Linked DNA regions of Homo sapiens: all the other regions are linked to region 3. Evidence: promoter capture Hi-C in human tissues and cell types (Jung and others, 2019). All regions are on one chromosome and are shown on one strand. The core of a region is centred on a gene start or on the middle of the fragment in contact, and the rest is flanking DNA. Distances in the headings are between cores, read along the strand shown.

The links. Contacts are between HindIII fragments. The study calls those that stand out against the background at their distance.
Region 1: a fragment that was not itself captured here is called in contact with the fragment with the promoter of SPATS2L in region 3 in 2 of the 25 tissues and cell types used here (H1 embryonic stem cells and heart right ventricle).
Region 2: a fragment that was not itself captured here is called in contact with the fragment with the promoter of SPATS2L in region 3 in 1 of the 25 tissues and cell types used here (hippocampus).
Region 4: a fragment that was not itself captured here is called in contact with the fragment with the promoter of SPATS2L in region 3 in 6 of the 25 tissues and cell types used here (IMR-90 fibroblasts, aorta, bladder and 3 more).
Region 5: a fragment that was not itself captured here is called in contact with the fragment with the promoter of SPATS2L in region 3 in 2 of the 25 tissues and cell types used here (bladder and mesendoderm cells).
Region 6: a contact is called between a fragment that was not itself captured here and the fragment with the promoter of SPATS2L in region 3, in 1 of the 25 tissues and cell types used here (H1 embryonic stem cells).

The regions. Positions count from the first base shown.
Region 1 is chr2:200,171,422-200,174,121 of GRCh38, forward strand. The region is part of intron 1 of LOC124906112 (a long non-coding RNA gene); the gene reads right to left. Among named protein-coding and RNA genes, the nearest start is that of SPATS2L, 130 kb to the right of the region's middle. The HindIII fragment of the contact is 5,433 bases long and covers 1-2,700 here.
Region 2 is chr2:200,534,703-200,537,402 of GRCh38, forward strand. It overlaps SGO2 (shugoshin 2), which reads left to right. Exons shown (of 9, transcript NM_152524.6): 3 at 294-469; 4 at 1,363-1,440. Among named protein-coding and RNA genes, the nearest start is that of SGO2, 9.8 kb to the left of the region's middle. The HindIII fragment of the contact is 3,825 bases long and covers 1-2,700 here.
Region 3 is chr2:200,305,253-200,307,952 of GRCh38, forward strand. SPATS2L (spermatogenesis associated serine rich 2 like) reads left to right here and starts at 1,441. Exons shown (of 13, transcript NM_001100423.2): 1 at 1,441-1,670. RefSeq lists an enhancer at 816-915 and silencers at 1,326-2,055, 2,076-2,405. The HindIII fragment of the contact is 4,989 bases long and covers 1-2,700 here.
Region 4 is chr2:200,093,747-200,096,446 of GRCh38, forward strand. All of the region lies in intron 1 of LOC124906112 (a long non-coding RNA gene), which reads right to left. Among named protein-coding and RNA genes, the nearest start is that of MAIP1, 140 kb to the left of the region's middle. The HindIII fragment of the contact is 5,638 bases long and covers 1-2,700 here.
Region 5 is chr2:200,134,811-200,137,510 of GRCh38, forward strand. All of the region lies in intron 1 of LOC124906112 (a long non-coding RNA gene), which reads right to left. Among named protein-coding and RNA genes, the nearest start is that of SPATS2L, 170 kb to the right of the region's middle. The HindIII fragment of the contact is 4,189 bases long and covers 1-2,700 here.
Region 6 is chr2:200,111,893-200,114,592 of GRCh38, forward strand. The region is part of intron 1 of LOC124906112 (a long non-coding RNA gene); the gene reads right to left. Among named protein-coding and RNA genes, the nearest start is that of MAIP1, 160 kb to the left of the region's middle. The HindIII fragment of the contact is 3,372 bases long and covers 1-2,700 here.

The DNA of each region.
Region 1 (2,700 bases), core at 141-2,640, 130 kb before region 3:
AAAGGCCCAAATTCTTCCCATGGTCTACAAGCCCCTACACAATCTATATTTCTGCAACAGCCCCCTAACTGTTCCTGATTCATACCAGGTACACAAGGCCTTCCTTCCCATTAGGGCTTTTGCAGTTACATTTTCTCCTACCTTGAATAATCTTTCACTAGACATTGTGATGGCTCCCTTACTACCTTTAGGGTTTTGCTTAAATGTCGCCCTCTCAATATGGCCTTCTGTTCCAGTTACTTTTGTGCCATAACAAATGTCCTCAAAACTCAGTTGTTAAAAAAACAATCATTCTTATATGTTCAAGGATTCTGTGGGTTAGGAACTCAGCAAGGGCACAGTGAGAATAGCTGAGGGTGACATCACAGCTGGGAGTTGAAAACTGACTCACTCACAAGTCTAGCAATTGTGTCAGTGGATACCTCAACCAGAACACCTATATGTGGCCTCTCCATAGCTCTGTGGGCTTCCTGGCTGCATGGTGGCTGAGTTCCAAGAGTATGTCTCAAAGAGCAGCAGGCAGATGCTGTATCACCTTTTATGACCCAGCCTCAGAAGTGACACAGTATCTCTTTCACCAGAGCCATAAACGCACACAGATGGAAGGAGAGGAACAGAGAACCCCACTCCTCCCCCAACCCACCATCTAATGGGAGAAGTTTCAAAGTCACACTGTGAGGAAAGCATGTGGGATGGGTGATATCATGTTGCCATCTTTAGACATTACAATCTGGCACACCTTCCCTACTCATTTTATTTTAAGTTGCAACCACTCTCAGCCCTCAGCCTCTTCCACCTCAACACCGTCTACTCCCTTTCCTTTATTTTCCCCAGAGCATTTGTATTAGTCTCCTGTTGCTGCTGTAACAAATTATCACAAACTTAGTGGCTTCCAACAACACAAATTTATTTCCTTACAGTTCTGTAAGTTTGAAATCTGAAATCCGTTTCACTAGGCTAAAATCAAGGTGTAAACAGGGCTGCATCCCTTCTGGGCGCCATAGGGGAGAATTTGATTCCAGCCTTTCCCAGCTTCCATTGGCTTCCTGCATCCCTTGGCTGGTGGGCTTACATCACTCTTACTTCTGCTTCCATCATCACCTCTCCTTCTTATAAGGACCCTTTAGATTATGTTGGGCCCACCTGGATAATCCAGGTAAACTCTCCACCTCAAAATTCTTAACTTAGTTACATCCGTAAAGTCTCTTGTGGCAAATAAGGGAACATATTTATAGGTTCAGGGATTAGGAAGTGGACATCTTTGGGGCCCATTATTCAGCCTACCAGAGCAGTTAATCACCATTTGACACATTACATATTTTACATATTTGTTTATGTCCTGTTTAGTAGAACATAGTCTTCATCAGAGAAAAGAGTGCTCTCTTTGTTGTTGTTGTGTCCCATGAGCCTAGTAAAGTCCCTGGCATCTGTTAAAAACTCAATATATATTTGTTGAAGAATTATTTTGTCAAATAAGTGATCCATAAATATTATTGAGTGCCTACTATGTGCAGGATAATGTAGCCACACTGAAGTCTTGTTAAAACTGATTTTCCAGAGTGTTCTAAACACTCTGTACCCATAGAGAAAACCACATGTGTGATTCATCGAAATAAAAAGTCAAGGGTCTAGCCCATAACCACAATAAAAAAAAATCTTTTCCATTTCTTTTTGGACATTGTACAAAAAGTTATTGTCTCTGTCATAATAAGAGCGCAGTCTGAATCTCTGTCATCTTCCTATCCCAGTTACTCGTCCTAAATGAAAAGGGAAGACATGGGGATGGCAGAGGATTCGGACCCTGGGTCTTAATTACCTACACAGGGGTTGGGCACTGCTACTTATTTGATCTTAATTGAGCGGCCCTATGGCCCTGCTTGCGGTTTTGTTTCCATAACATTCCATGATATTTCTCCAGACAGTACACAAATAAAAATGGTTTGTGTTTCAACTGAATTTCCTGATTCTTTGTGAATCAAGCCAGATGTGTGGAAATGTCTGTGTGTGTGTGTGTGTGTGTGCGTTTAGACACTGATCCATATGCTTGCACGGATACGAATTCTGTGACCTTCTGTTCTTTCTTTTCCTTGATGATTCCTACACACAACCTCATAAGGCACATCTCATAATTAACTTGGATCTGTTTCAATCATGAATTTTTCAAAAGATCATAATCATCATGGTTTCCATGTCCATTCAGAAAACAATATAGCCGCATATGTCCATAAATGACCCGCATAGAATCTGCCCTTATCCATTTTGTTTTGGAACATGAGCCAAATTGGACTTATTTCTATTCACTTCAGATGTAATAACTTAGCCTGTTACTAAACATCACATAAAAAGCAGAATCTCAAAGCAAAAAACAGAAGCAAATACAGTTTTCTGTGTTAACTAGAGTTAGAGAATACAGGGAAAGGAAACAAAGAGTAGTTAAGAGCTTTTATTTCTCTTTAGGCTCAGTTTTCCCAGCTGTGAAGTGGGCACACTAAAATCTTTCTTGGCAACTTACTTGGCCTTTATACACTTGACTCCTTTATCCATAAAACTGATACGGTAATAATAATACCTACCCAGGAGAGGAGCTGAAAGATGAAATTAGTTTCAGATGCAAATTACTTATTTAAATGGCTGGCGCTTAGTAAACGTTCAATGTGTTGAATCCACTATTATTATTCACTCATAGAATTAGGTAAATTC
Region 2 (2,700 bases), core at 98-2,597, 230 kb after region 3:
GACTGATCTAATTATGTAGAATGCTATGTCTGTGCTGCAGTCCTCTTACTCCTTTTTTATACATATTCTGCATTCCTCACAACTCTTGAATTCTTCATCTTCTGTCTAGCTTTCATTTCCTCACCTCTAAACTCTGGGTTTATTTTTCTCAAAACTACATCTGTATTGTTATTCCCTTTTCTAATCTTCAGTTAAAACTTGTGAAATGCATTTTGTCTATGTTTTACTAAGGAATATAAAAATTTCTTAAGGTATAAGCTGAATATTAACTCATTTTAAAAATCTTTTTACAGATAATTCTTCTATTTTCAAAATATCTTTAAAGCACAACAACAGGGCATTAGCTCAGGCTCTTAGTAGAGAAAAAGAGAATTCTCGAAGAATTACAACTGAAAAGATGCTATTGCAAAAAGAAGTAGAGAAACTGAATTTTGAGAACACATTTCTTCGCCTAAAGCTAAATAACTTGGTATGTAAGCTATATTGTTTTTGAATTCTAATTATAACTTAAATCTTTTAGCTGCATTATTATAGAAGCTTTAAAAATATTTTTCAAATCTCCAATAGTGAAAAATTATTGAAAGTCAGTATACCATGTAAGTCTATGTCAAAGTACAAACTGTTAATGGGTAATAAAATATGTGTTTTAAATCTACATTCTAAATGTGTGCTTGTGTGCTGTGTAAACCAGTATAATACTTTGACCAACATTCGATTGCTAATCATAAACAAAGCTTGGTACATTAATACATTTTTAAAAGATGGTCATAGTTCTTCCGGTGTTCTTGAAAGGAAAGGAATTCCCAGAATGTTGTTATTCTTTTTTAATCTCAGCATTTACCTGGCTACAAGCTAAACAGAATGAGAATTATAGTTGTTTCTTTTCCTTCCAAATTTCAACTCTGTTCACAGACAGGACAGTGAGAGCCAATGATTAGCTAGGCTGCAACTATAGATCTAAATCTAAAATGAGTAGAACTTTTTATAATGGAAAAAGGACCTACTCTACTTGTGGGTTTAATTCCGGTGGCTGACAAACTGTTCTCTTGCCATGTGATATATTACTATGAGAAGATAGAAAAATGTTTATAGGAAAACAAAATTGTTCTAAAGTATTCAACATATGTGTGTGTGTGTGTATACATGTATGTATGTATGATATGTATGACTATTTGGACTATATAATACTATTTGGTACTATATAATATACCATTTTAGCTGAATGTGATCTCAATTTTTAGCTCAATATGATATCAACTATTTTTTAAGTTTTCTCACATGGATGGCATTCATAAATGCCTGATATTATAATAAATTACAAGTCTTAACTGATTAAAAGGGGTCTTTATTTTACATGTGCAGAATAAGAAGCTTATAGACATAGAAGCTCTCATGAACAATAACTTGATAACTGCAATTGAAATGAGCAGTCTTTCTGAGGTAAGTAGAATTTATATGTAAATAGTGTTGTTCTTTAGATTACTGAGGATCACTGAGATTACTTAAATAACATCAAGGTTAGAGATTCACATTTCAAGTTTTGTGCAAAGGACTGATGATAATATCAGTTTTAACTGGCTAACAGCATATTATCATTTTGTATAATTGGTTATTGAAAATGTCATATGAAAATTAGGTTTTTATTAAAAGTAACAGGATTAGACAGGTTAGTGGAACATACTGGCTCCTAAATGGACTCAGAAACATAAAGACATTAGTAGAAAGGAAGCATTTTAAGTGAGGAAAGACTTTGGGGTTTTTGTTTTTTGTTTGTTTGTTTTAAAGATGGACACAATTGAAAAACTGGGGAAAAAAATAGAGGCTGGTCCTACTTTATACTGTTTTCTAAAACAAATTCTAAATTTCCCAAATGCTTTTCATGTGGTTCTTTTTGGAGAATTCAGAGGGCTGAGGTCAACATCTAGATTAAGGAAAAGTAAAAACTGGACAGCAGGTAGATGGAGAAGCTGGAGGTGAAGGCACAGTATACATTCTTGGTAGCTACCTTCTTGAACTTACTATTTAACAGACTAACTTTTGCATACCAAGCTTTAAAATTCTTTTTCTTTCTAGTTGTTACTAAGTGGGGCAGGTGATGGGTCATATAGACGTACTGTTCTAACATCAGAACGAGATAAGAAAAGTATAGAATAAAGTTTCACACATGCTTTTGTCCGCCTTCAGCTACTTTCTTCTCCGTTCTGTCTTCTCCTTGTACCTCATGCAGGTGATTGCTTTCATCTATTTCTTTATATAAAAACAAACAAACAAAATAAATATTTTCTTACTTTTCTTCTTTACACAAAAGATAGCATGCTATACCAGATGTTCTATACCTTTTTATGTGACATATCTTGGGGATCTCTCCATATGATTATGTGGAGTGATTCCTCATTCTCTTTTGGTGCTGCTTTGGATAGATCCAGAGTGGACTTGTAATCTACCTCACTAGGCTCCTGTTGTTGGACACTTGGGTTATCCTTTGCTGTTGGCTTGTGTTAGTGTAGAGTGCCTTTCCCTCTTGCATCATTAATTTTTTCCCTCCCTTCTGGATTATTCCCATCAGGATGCAAAAATGTTATCATCTCTCATCTTAAAAAATAAATAAATAAACCTCTTACTTCACCTACTTCCCCGCTACTATCTCAGCTCTCTTCTTGCCTTTACAGCAAAGCTTTTTGAGAGATTTATTCACTATCT
Region 3 (2,700 bases), core at 191-2,690:
GGTCTTGATCTCCAGGGCTCAAGAGATTTGCCCACCTCGGTCTCCGAAAGTGTTGGGATTACAGGTGTGAGCCACTGGGCCCAGCCCTCAGTTTATCTGTAAAACAGGACAAAAGTAGTACCTACCTGATGGGGTTCTTCCAAGGATTAAATGAGCTAGTACTTATAAAGCACTTGCTAATGTCTGTTAAATAAATTATATTATCCACACACCAATCCAAGGCGACTATAAGGTAGCAAGAACCACTCCAAGTCACATAAGAAAATGAATTCCTTTCGTTTTAGCTCCTCTCTTTATTTCAGCAGTGCGTTGTCAACAGGGCCACATTATGTTAGCAGATTTGAACTTTATCCGAAAGGTGTTTGTATTTTATTTCAAATTATGAATTCCTGAACATCGGATTATGTACGATTCTGCAGTGCCCTCGGAGGCCCATTAGAGTCTGGAGCTCGAGAAGCATAACAAACTCTGGTCTGATATTTGTAAGGAGCTTGACAGCCAAGGAGCCACTCAGAAACAGTTATTGGTATTGCCAAAAAAAAAAAAAAAAAAGGAAGCTAAGAAGTCACCCTTCTAAATAAATAAATAAATAAATAAATAAATAAAAACCTGAATTGGAGAGCTGCCTGCATTTCACTCTACTGCCTCTGGAAGAAGAGTGTTATCTAAAGTGCTTCCATCATGAATAATGATTGAGAAACTGCTTTTACTCTCCCGACTACTGTACTCCCAGGCAGAAACCCACGGCTGAAGCCCACGATGCCCATGTGTAACTTGGTTATTACACACACGTTTGGAGCCCAGTGTGCAGACCCGCAGCGCAGAGGAGGCGGCGGAACACCCCGGGTTGGTCGGGTTTCCAAGGGCTGACCCGAGCTCCAGCACTTTTTCCGCGCCTGATTTTTCAGGTCATTTTCGAATGGGCTATCTTTGCTTACATTTTGAGCTTGGATCCTCTCCAGAAAGCATTACTACCTTCTAAAAGGAAAAACATCTCGTATTTGCAGACAGTGCTGAGGGAGCAAAGTTCATTTTCTCGGGTAGGAGAAGATGATTCTCTTGCAACACGTGCGGATTGTGACAAAATCTTTCATTAACAAGGGGAGTTTCGGTGAAGTGGAGGTTTGGGGAAAGGCGAGGAAGTCGGTCTGGAGCAAGCAAGCAAAGTGCGGAAGCTGTACTGGGATTCTTCTAGAAAGTGGGGTGGGAAAGGAGCTAGGGAGGGCGTGTGGAGGGACGAGATCTGTGTCAGAACGTGCGTGTGAGCGGATACAAAACCCGAGAGAGGCGTGAGCAGCGCTGTGTTTGCGAGCGGGAGCGAGGGGCGCCGGCTGGGGTGTGTGCTCCTGGTGAGTGACACCGAGGGGAAGGCGGGCGGGTCGGCGGGCGGGGGCAGCCTGCGAGGGGCGGGAGTGTCCCTGCGTGGGGCGGCCGAGCCGGAGTTGTGTCAGTGAAGGAATCCAGTCCGGGGGCCGAGCTGGCTGCGCCCTCCGCTGCAAGCGCCGGCAGCGCGGGGCGAGCTCCGGACGGCGCGCGGCCCAGGCAGCGGCTCCCGCTCGGCCCGCCCTCCGAGCCGCAGGGGCCGCCACCGCCGCGGCGCCTCCCCTGGCGACCGCGCCCCCGGGCCCCGGCTCCGGCCCGGGACGGAGGAGCCGGCGCTCGACACAGAGGTAAGCCCAGGACCCCCTCCACGCCGGGCCGGCTGGGGATGCAGGGCGCGGGCGGACGCGGAGGGGCCTGCGCGGCCGGGACGGAGACTCGGCTGGGCCGAGCATTCCGCAGCCCGGGCCGCCCAGCCTCCGCCGCCTCCCGGAGCGCTGGGTGTGGCCCGCGCTCGGCGCCGAGGCGGGCTGGTGGCGCGGACCGGACGCGAAGGTCGCCGTCCTTCCTTTCTCCAGCCGGCGCGGGCAAGCGGGAGGAGGCGCCGGCTGGGACGCACAGTGGCGCTCCCCGGGCGAGCGTGTGGCCGCCGCGCTCCGACGTGTACCCGCCCGCCCCGGATCTGAATCGCCCGCGGCCGCCGTCCCTCGCCTGCCGTCCTCCCGCGCGGGCGCCCCCGTTCCCTCCCAAGCCGGAAAGAGACCCACCGTCCCCCAGGCTGCTCTCTGGCCCGGAGCCGCAAAGCCCACGTCAGCCGCGACCACCCCGCCCTCGGATCCCAGCCGGGTGCGGGGGCCGCGGCCCCACTGAACCCCGCGCCCCTGGCGCCCAGCGGGAGTGGGATGCGTTGGCGTCCGCGCTGCGCGGGTGGGCTGGGGTGGCCGGAGCAGACGCGGAGCGCCCTGGCCGCGGGACGAAGCGGTCGCGCCGCCGCATTTGGGCGGGGGGACCCCGGAGTCCGCGGGCTGCGGACCCCAGCGGGAGACGGGGTTGTCGTAGGATGCGCTCGCGCTGGACGCCGGCGCACTCTGAATATCATGCTGCCGCACACGCGGGGCTGAAGGGCCGAGTCTTCACCTGCGCGGGGATGCGGCGGAAGCGTCGCGTCTTCGCGAGTGGAGGTTTCGTGTTCCCGCGGGGTTGGTGTGTTTTTGAACTTCACGAGCTTCTCATCCCCCCCGCAATCCTGGTTTTAGCAGATGTCGGGGTTTTGGAGACCTGACACTTTTCGTGAAAGATTCTTTCTGTACGTTTTCTTTTGGCTATATTACAGGGTTTGTAGCTTGAGAACTAGTGAAAACCCTTGAACTTCAAACACAG
Region 4 (2,700 bases), core at 93-2,592, 210 kb before region 3:
TGCACTTATTAACTTGTATCATCATCATCTGTTTATAAGTCAGTTTTCTGAACCAGACCATGGGCCATGGGCTCCTTGAACGTAAAACTGAATCTTCTTCATGTTTGTATCACTGTGTCCAATAGTCACTTATAGAGTTCAATGTATGTTTGAAGAATGAATGAATCCTGGGAATTGCCTGATGTAGCACTGTTTCTGTGTAGAACCAACTTTAACGCAGAGATGTAATAATCATGTGCAAAAGGAGAAATAACACTCATATGGGGAGACTTTACACTCATTCCAAGATAAAGATGAAAATCACATTAATTGTTTAAGCATGGGCTCCATTCAGAACCTTCAGGTTGGGAGCTTTGAGCCCATTGGTATTTTATATTTATTTACACATGGCAAAATCTGGTTTCCTGTTTTCAGAGAAAATGTTTTTCACAAAGCTTTATTAAAATGTTCAAACAGTCTCACAGACATCATATCTCTCTCACAACACAACTCTTTAGTATAAACAAATCAGAAATGCAAGGACTAAATTCCCCTTCTAGCATATGTGGGCTTAAAAAGAAAGCAACCATGCTTGACAAAATAAGCTCTGAGCTTTATTCCACCTCTGTTTAGATGGAAGCTCAAGACCCCCAGTCAACCAGAGATGCATCAAGGGCCCCCTATGCCAACTGCAAGAAATCAGAGAAAGAGGGAGGGAATGCACGGAAGGAGATGAGCCAGAACAACACTTCAAGCCAAATGCTTTCATCTTCTACACAATAAGAGGAAAAAGCTTGAGTAGATGTCATTAGCACATCAGCTGGGCTGGGCACCCATTCTTATTTTTTCAAATAAATAGGCTTAAAAGCCAGGCCCTCTTATTACCAGTATATAATTCCTATCGACATGGAAAGGGGTAAGCAGGGTTTTTTGTTGTTTTATTTTTAAATGAATGATAGTTTGGGAGTCTGAAATCAGACACAGCAGGGAGAAAACAACTGCATGTGTTTTCTCCGAAATGCAACAGTACACGCATATCGAAGTGACTGGCTGTCACCGCTATAATGTCACCATCTTCCCTAAAGTGAACAATTGGGAAACAAACAATTGGGAAATTAGAAGATGGCTTTTTTGCGATTCTCCCTTCTGAAGGTCTAGACTGCTCTTGCTTATGTGTACAATAGATCCACTAACAAAGAAAATTTTGAAAGCACAGCACATATGCTCATCTGTACATTCTGAAAGCCACATGGGATTTTTTTTCCTACATTTTAGCTTACTTTCAGAAGCTGAAGCTGTCATTAAGTAAAGGGAAAAGGCTGCTTTCAAGCATGAATCATTTTTCACAGACTTCATTAAAATAAAATAAACGTCTTTGCTAGTTAGTGAAAGGCAGTCGGGGAGGGTGGGAAAGGAAACTCTAACTCTCCCTTCTGTGCTGAAGATAAGGAAAGATGGTTCCATTCCTGCCTTTTAAAAGAGGTGGAAGACGACACATCCATCCTAAAGACAGATAAAATGAAACACGAGGATGTCATTGGAGATAGACTGGCACAGGGACTCAAAATAAATCAACAGCAGAAGCACGGACAGAATTTCGGTTTTCTGATTCCAAGGCTAGTGTTTTGTACCCTAGGTTTAGGGATGCTTCCAAGTTTGAGGCCAGGTATAAGCAGTTTCCTACTTTATGTACAACATATTCCAGAAAATGTTACCAAAATTGAAGGTTCAAAAACTAGACTCATATATTTTAAGGGAGCTTCTCTTCCCAGATGACATGGTTTGGCTGTGCTCCCACCCAGATCTCATGTTGAATTGTAGTTCCCATAATCCCCATGTGTTGTGGGAGGCACTCGGTGGGAGGTAATTGAATCATGGGAGCAGTTGCCTCCATGCTGTTCTCGTGATAGTGAGTGAGTTCTCTGAGGTCTGATGGTTTGATAGGGGCCTTTTCCCCTCTTCGCTCTGCACTTCTCCTTGCTGCCACCATGTGAAGAAGGACATGATTTGCTTCCACTTCTGCCATGATTGTTAGTTTCCTGAGGCCTCCCCAGCCCTGTGGAACTGTGAGTCAATTAAGCCTCTTTCCTTTACAAATTACCCAATCCTGGGTATGTCTTTATTAGCAGCGTGAGAATGGACTAATACACCAGATTTCTGAAAGATACTACAATATCAATCTTTAATTATAACTTTTCCCCCAACAAGTTTGACAATTTGAAATAGTTTATGCATCCCCTTTTAAATTTTCAAATATTTTGACCCATCAAAAATAATAATATAAAAACATCTGTGTGTCCACCATCCAGCTTAAGAAATAAGATATTTGAAATTTAGTGGAAGCCCCCAATATTCCTTTTTCCTCCCACACCAGTGACCACTCTCCAGAATTCAATGTTTATTGCTCGCTTTTATTTGACAGATACAGGCATTCTGACAGGTGCTGTTCTATGTCATTTATAAAATCTTTACAAATACTAACAATCCTTATAATAACCAATCCTTCTAATAACCCAGTGAGTTGGAGAGTACAGTTATCCTTGTTTAACAAAGGACAAAACTATGACACAGAGAAGTTAAGCAACTTGCCTAAAGTCACACAGTTAGCAAATTACGGAGCTGGAATACAAATATAGAAGTCTGGATCCTGAGTCTGTGCTGCTAGCACGCTGTGCTACCCAATTCCTTCCTTCCTTCCTTTCCTTTTTTCCTTCCTTCCTT
Region 5 (2,700 bases), core at 16-2,515, 170 kb before region 3:
CACCAAACAACCAGTTCTCCAACCCTCCAGAAGCCAACTAGATGTCCTACAATCCAGTTCAGTTCAGACACTATCCAGAATTAGTGCAGACCCCACAAGGTAAGGACTCAGGCCCATAAGTCTGTCCCCACTTCAGACACCAATGGCAAGTCCCCAGCCTCCTGTACTTCTGACTGACTCTCTATGTTATTACCCAATGGGTTCATCTTGCTAGCTGCATAGATAAAACCAATTCACTGAGACAGCAGTATTGCAGCAAATAAAGGATTTAATAATCAGAGGGCTAGCCAAGAGAAAGGATGGGAGTAATTATTCAAGTCATCCTCTCCAAATATTCAGAGACTGTGGTTTTTCAAAGATAGTTTGGTGGGCAGGGGGCTAGGGAGTGAGGAATGCTGATTGGTTGGGTCAGAAATGAAATCATAGAGAGTTGAAGCTGTCTTCTTGCACTGAGTCAGTTCCTAGATAGAGTCATAGGACCAGTTGAATCAGTTTCTTAGTATGGGTCATGGGTCCTGGGGTCAGCTGGTTACCAGAATGCAAACGTCTGAAAAATATTTCAAAGACCAATCTTAGGTTTTGACAATAGTAATGTTATCTTAGCAGAATTCAGGCCCGTCGCACAATCCCAATCTTTTGAGCTTTCATTAGTCCTAAAAAGGTGGTCTTTGTCCCCAAGCAAGGATTGGTTAGTTGTAGGAAGGGACTGTTATCAACGTTTTTTTAAGGTTAACAAAGGCAGTTAGCTTATGAGTTTAGAATCAAGATAGAGACAGTTAGGTTAAATTTCTCTCACTGTTGTAATTTTTGAAAAGACAATTTCTGCTATAAATCTCATGACTCCCTTCTCAAATTTGATAATTTGCTAGAATGGCCCACATAACTCAGGAAGACACTTCACTTACTATTACCAATTTATTATGAAGGATAAAACTCAAGAACAGCCAGGTGGAAGAGCTGCATAGGCCATGGTATAGGGGAGGGGCGTGGAGCATTTAGGCCCTCTCCAGGCCCACCACTCTCCTAGCACCTCTATGTGTTCACTGACCCAGAAGCTCCCCATACCCCATCATTTGGGGGCTTTATGGAGGTTCCAATACATTGGCAAGGTTGATTAAATCATTGGCTATTGATGACTGAACTCAATCTCCAGCCCCTCTCCCCTCCCAGGAGGTTGGGGTGTGGGGCTGAATGTTCCAACCCTCTAATCACATGGCTTATTCCTCTGGCAACCATACCCCATCCTGAAGCTATCTCAGGGCCTACCAAGAGTCACCTAATTAGCATAAACTCAGGTGTGGTTGAAATAGGCTCATTATGAATAACAAAAGATGCTCCACTTACCCCTATTACTCAGGAAATTATAAAGATTTTAAGAGCTCTGTGACAGGAACTGGTGACAAAGACAAAATATATATCTTTTATTATATCACAATATCACACTAACTCAAGGCCCTCAGAGATAAGGCAAGGAATACACATGAAGTATGCCAGGTTTAAGAGAACAGAAAGGCTTGGAAGCTTTCATAAACTTGAGAGTTCTTCCCAACCTAAAAGCATTCAGATTCTAAAGGTGTTAAGCACACCGAGGCTGCCAGACCACATAAATACAGGTCTCATTCTGTAAATGACTTGACAATTTGCAACATCTTGTGACTATGCTAATATTCTTTTCAGCTGTGGCATTTTCTTACTCTTGTTTTCCATGCTCTTCCTTTTCCTAAAATCTATCCCAGGTAAATGAACAGTGGGTCAACCAAAGGAGTGAATGATTTTTGACATTGTCTTGTAACCACAATAGATTCATGGCCTGACACACACAGCAGGTCAATATGCCAAGACTTCGGGTTGCAGAAGAGAAAGAGGTTTAATTGTAGGGTCACTGAATTAAAAGATGGGAGAAAACCTCAAATCAATCTCCCTGAGGAATTTGAAGTTAGGGTTTTTAAGAGTTTTGGAGTGGGCCACAGTGTGGAGATCATTGATTAATCAAAGAGTGCAGGGTGAAGTCATGGGACAGAGAGAGGAAGAAGCTGTATTCTCATGCTAATTCTGTTCCTCTGCGGGGGGGCTTCAAACTGGTTGCTGGAATTCAGGGTCTGAAAAACATCTTAAGCAATACTTAAATAAAAGCTGTATGGTTCTAACGTCAGAGATTCTGTCTGTCTGTCTCTCTTTCTCTCTCTCTATATATATATACATTTTTTTTTTTTTTTGGACACAGGGGTCTCGCTCCGTCACCCAGGCTAGAGTGCAGTGGTGTAATCATAGCTCATTGCAGTCTCAACCTCTCCAGCTCCAGCAATCCTCCTGCCTCAGCCTCTCAAGTAGCTAGGACTACAGATGCATGCCACCATGCCTAGCTATTTTTTAAAAAAATTTTTATAGGGATGGGGTCTTACTGTGTTACCCAGGCTGGTCTCAAACTTCTGGGCTCAAGCAGGCTGGTCTCAAACTTCTGGGCTCAAGCTGTCTTCCCACCTCAGCCTCCCAAAGTGTTGGGATTATAGGCATAAGCTGCCATGTCTGGCTGCAAATCAATTCTTAAATAGTCTTAGCTTTTCATGTCAGAAATCCTATCTATAGGAACAGTGGAGATGAAAATGGTCAGTATCTACTGATATATGACTTCTAACAATAAGGAAGTAGGCCAAAGTGCAGCCTGGTTAGTGCTTAGTTATGTCTACATTTCTGTCCAGA
Region 6 (2,700 bases), core at 67-2,566, 190 kb before region 3:
TCAGCCTCCTGAGTAGCTAGGAACACAGGCGTGTGTCACCATGCCTGGCTAATTTTTAAATTTTTTGTAGAGATGGGGTCTCACTATATTGCCCAGGCTGGTCCTGAATTACTGGACTCAAGCAATTCTCCCACCTCGGCCTCCCAGAGTGCGATTACAGGTGTAAGCCACTGTGCCTGGCCCGTCTTTATCATTATAGCTGCACTCTCAGCCTCAGTTCTGGTCTCCTGCCCTTTTCACTTCTCACTCTCAACAATATTCAGTCACTTGACCACTCTGGCCTCACCATGTCTCATAACCCTCCCTGCAAGCCCAGCCCACTGCACAGATGTTATCAATCATCAAATTTAGTAGTTTTTCTTTAAAAATCCCTCAAAACCTGTTTCTTCCTTCAAAATTTTACTGCCACTCCTCAGACAGGCCGGTCTACCTCACATGTACCCCACAGCAGCATCTTAAGTCCTTCTCTCTCCTTCCAGCTGGCCAGAGTCTGATTCAGTCACATCACATGGGACAGCAAGAACCAGGTCAGGAGCAAGAGACGGGTTTCCAGGGACCTGAAGTCCTAGGAACCCCCATAAATGTGAGGAGAGATATTAGGCTGTATGCAGGCTTTTGACTGTATGAGGGTTGGTTCCTCCTTGCAAAAGGCAAGAAGTCCAGGATGTCAATGATGCAAGCAACCTTATCACCTTGACCATGGACAAAGGGAGTTTTCCAGGGCCATTGAAACTGCAGGACAGCTTCAGAAACTGAGAAAACGATGCTATGCCCTTTCCAGAGTGCAGAGAGAAATGTGCTGGGAGGGTCAAGTTGCTCTTTTCTAAGTCTGATATTGTTAGAGAAGATAGCTAGGCAGACATGAGTAGGGCAGGAGAGGGCTTCCCCTCCAGGAATGTGAGACAACTATCAGGTGATGGTCAGATGGTTATCAAACTGTCTCTCTAAAATGATAATTCATTGCAGCTGGTGCCAGGGAACGGCTGTCTCCCAGAAGACAGAAAATACCTAAGGCTGGTGATCAGCATCTTCCCAATAAGATCTCAGGAGTTGGGTGAGCAGGCTTAAGCACGTGCACTAGAGGCAAAATAGAAGAGTTTAACTGTTATATGACCTTCCTCTAGCAATACTCGATTGTTAAGGGAAAAATGCCTCAAACGAGCATGCACACAACTTCAGTAAACACACCACCGCCTGCAGCCCCTTCCAAGTGCTGGCAGGCCACTGCACATGCAAAGAGCCTGCCCCAAGGAAAAATCAAGGGAGGAGAGATGCAAACCCTGGAAGCATGCCAATGATAAAACTCCAAATCAAGGGTCAGACGGGGCACTTGCATCTCTCAAGTCACACGATTGGCCTTCTTCCAAGTGTACTTTACTTCCTTTTGTTCCTGCTCCAAAACTTTTTTTTTTTAATACTTTAAGTTCTAGGGTACATGTGCACAATGTGTGGTTTGCTACATATGTATACATGTGCCATATTGGTTTGCTGCACCTATTAACTCATAATTTACATTAGATATTTCTCCTAATGCTATCCCTTCCCCATCCCCTGACCCACGACAGGCCCCAGTGTGTGATGTTCCCCGCCCTGTGTCCAAGTGTTCTCATTGTTCAATTCCTACCTATGAGTGAGAACATGCAGTGTTTGGTTTTCTGTCCTGGGAACAGTTTGCTCAGAATGATGGTTTCCAGCTTCATCCATGTTGCTACAAAGGACATGAACTCATCCTTTTTTATGGCTGCATAGTATTCCATGGTGTATATGTGCCACATTTTCTTAATCCAGTCCATCATTGATGGACATTTAGGTTGGTTCCAAGTCTGCTATTGTGAATAGTGCCACAATAAACATACGTGTGCATGTGTCTTTATAGTAGCATGATTTATAATCCTTTGGGTATATACCCAGTAATGGGATGGCTGGGTCAAATGGTATTTCTACTTCTAGATCCTTGAGGAATTGCCACACTGTCTTCCACAATGGTTGAATTAGTTTACACTGCCACCAACACTGTAAAAGCTTTCCTATGTCTCCACATCCTCTCCAGCATCTGTTGTTTCCTGACTTTTTAATTATCGCCATTCTAACTGGTGTGAGATGGTATCTCATTGTGGTTTTGATTCGCATTTCTCTGATGACCTGTGATGATAAGCATTTTTTCATGTGTCTGTTGGCTGCATAAATGTCTTCTTTTGAAAAGTGTTTGTTCATATCCTTTGCCCAGTTTTTGATGGGGTTGTTTGATTTTTTCTTGTAAATTTGTTTAAGTTCTTTGTAGATTGTGGATATTAGCCCTTTGTCAGACAGGTAGATCTCAAAAATTTTCTCCCATTCTATAGGTTGCCTGTTCACTCTGATGGTAGTTTCTTTTGCTGTGCAGAAGCTCTTGAGTTTAATTAGATCCCATTTGTCTATTTTGGCTTTTGTTTCCATTGCTTTTGGTGTTTTAGTCATGAAGTCCTTGCCCACGCCTGTGTCCTGAATGGTATTGCCTAGGTTTTCTTCTAGGGTTTTTTATGGTTTTAGGTCTAACATTTAAGTCTTTAATCCATCTTGAATTAATTTTTGTATAAAGTGTAAGGAAGAGATCCAGTTTCAGCTTTCTACATATGGCTAGCCAGGTTTCCCAGCACCATTTATTGAATAGGGAATCCTTTCCCCATTTCTTGTTTTTGTCAGGTTTGTCAAACATCCAAT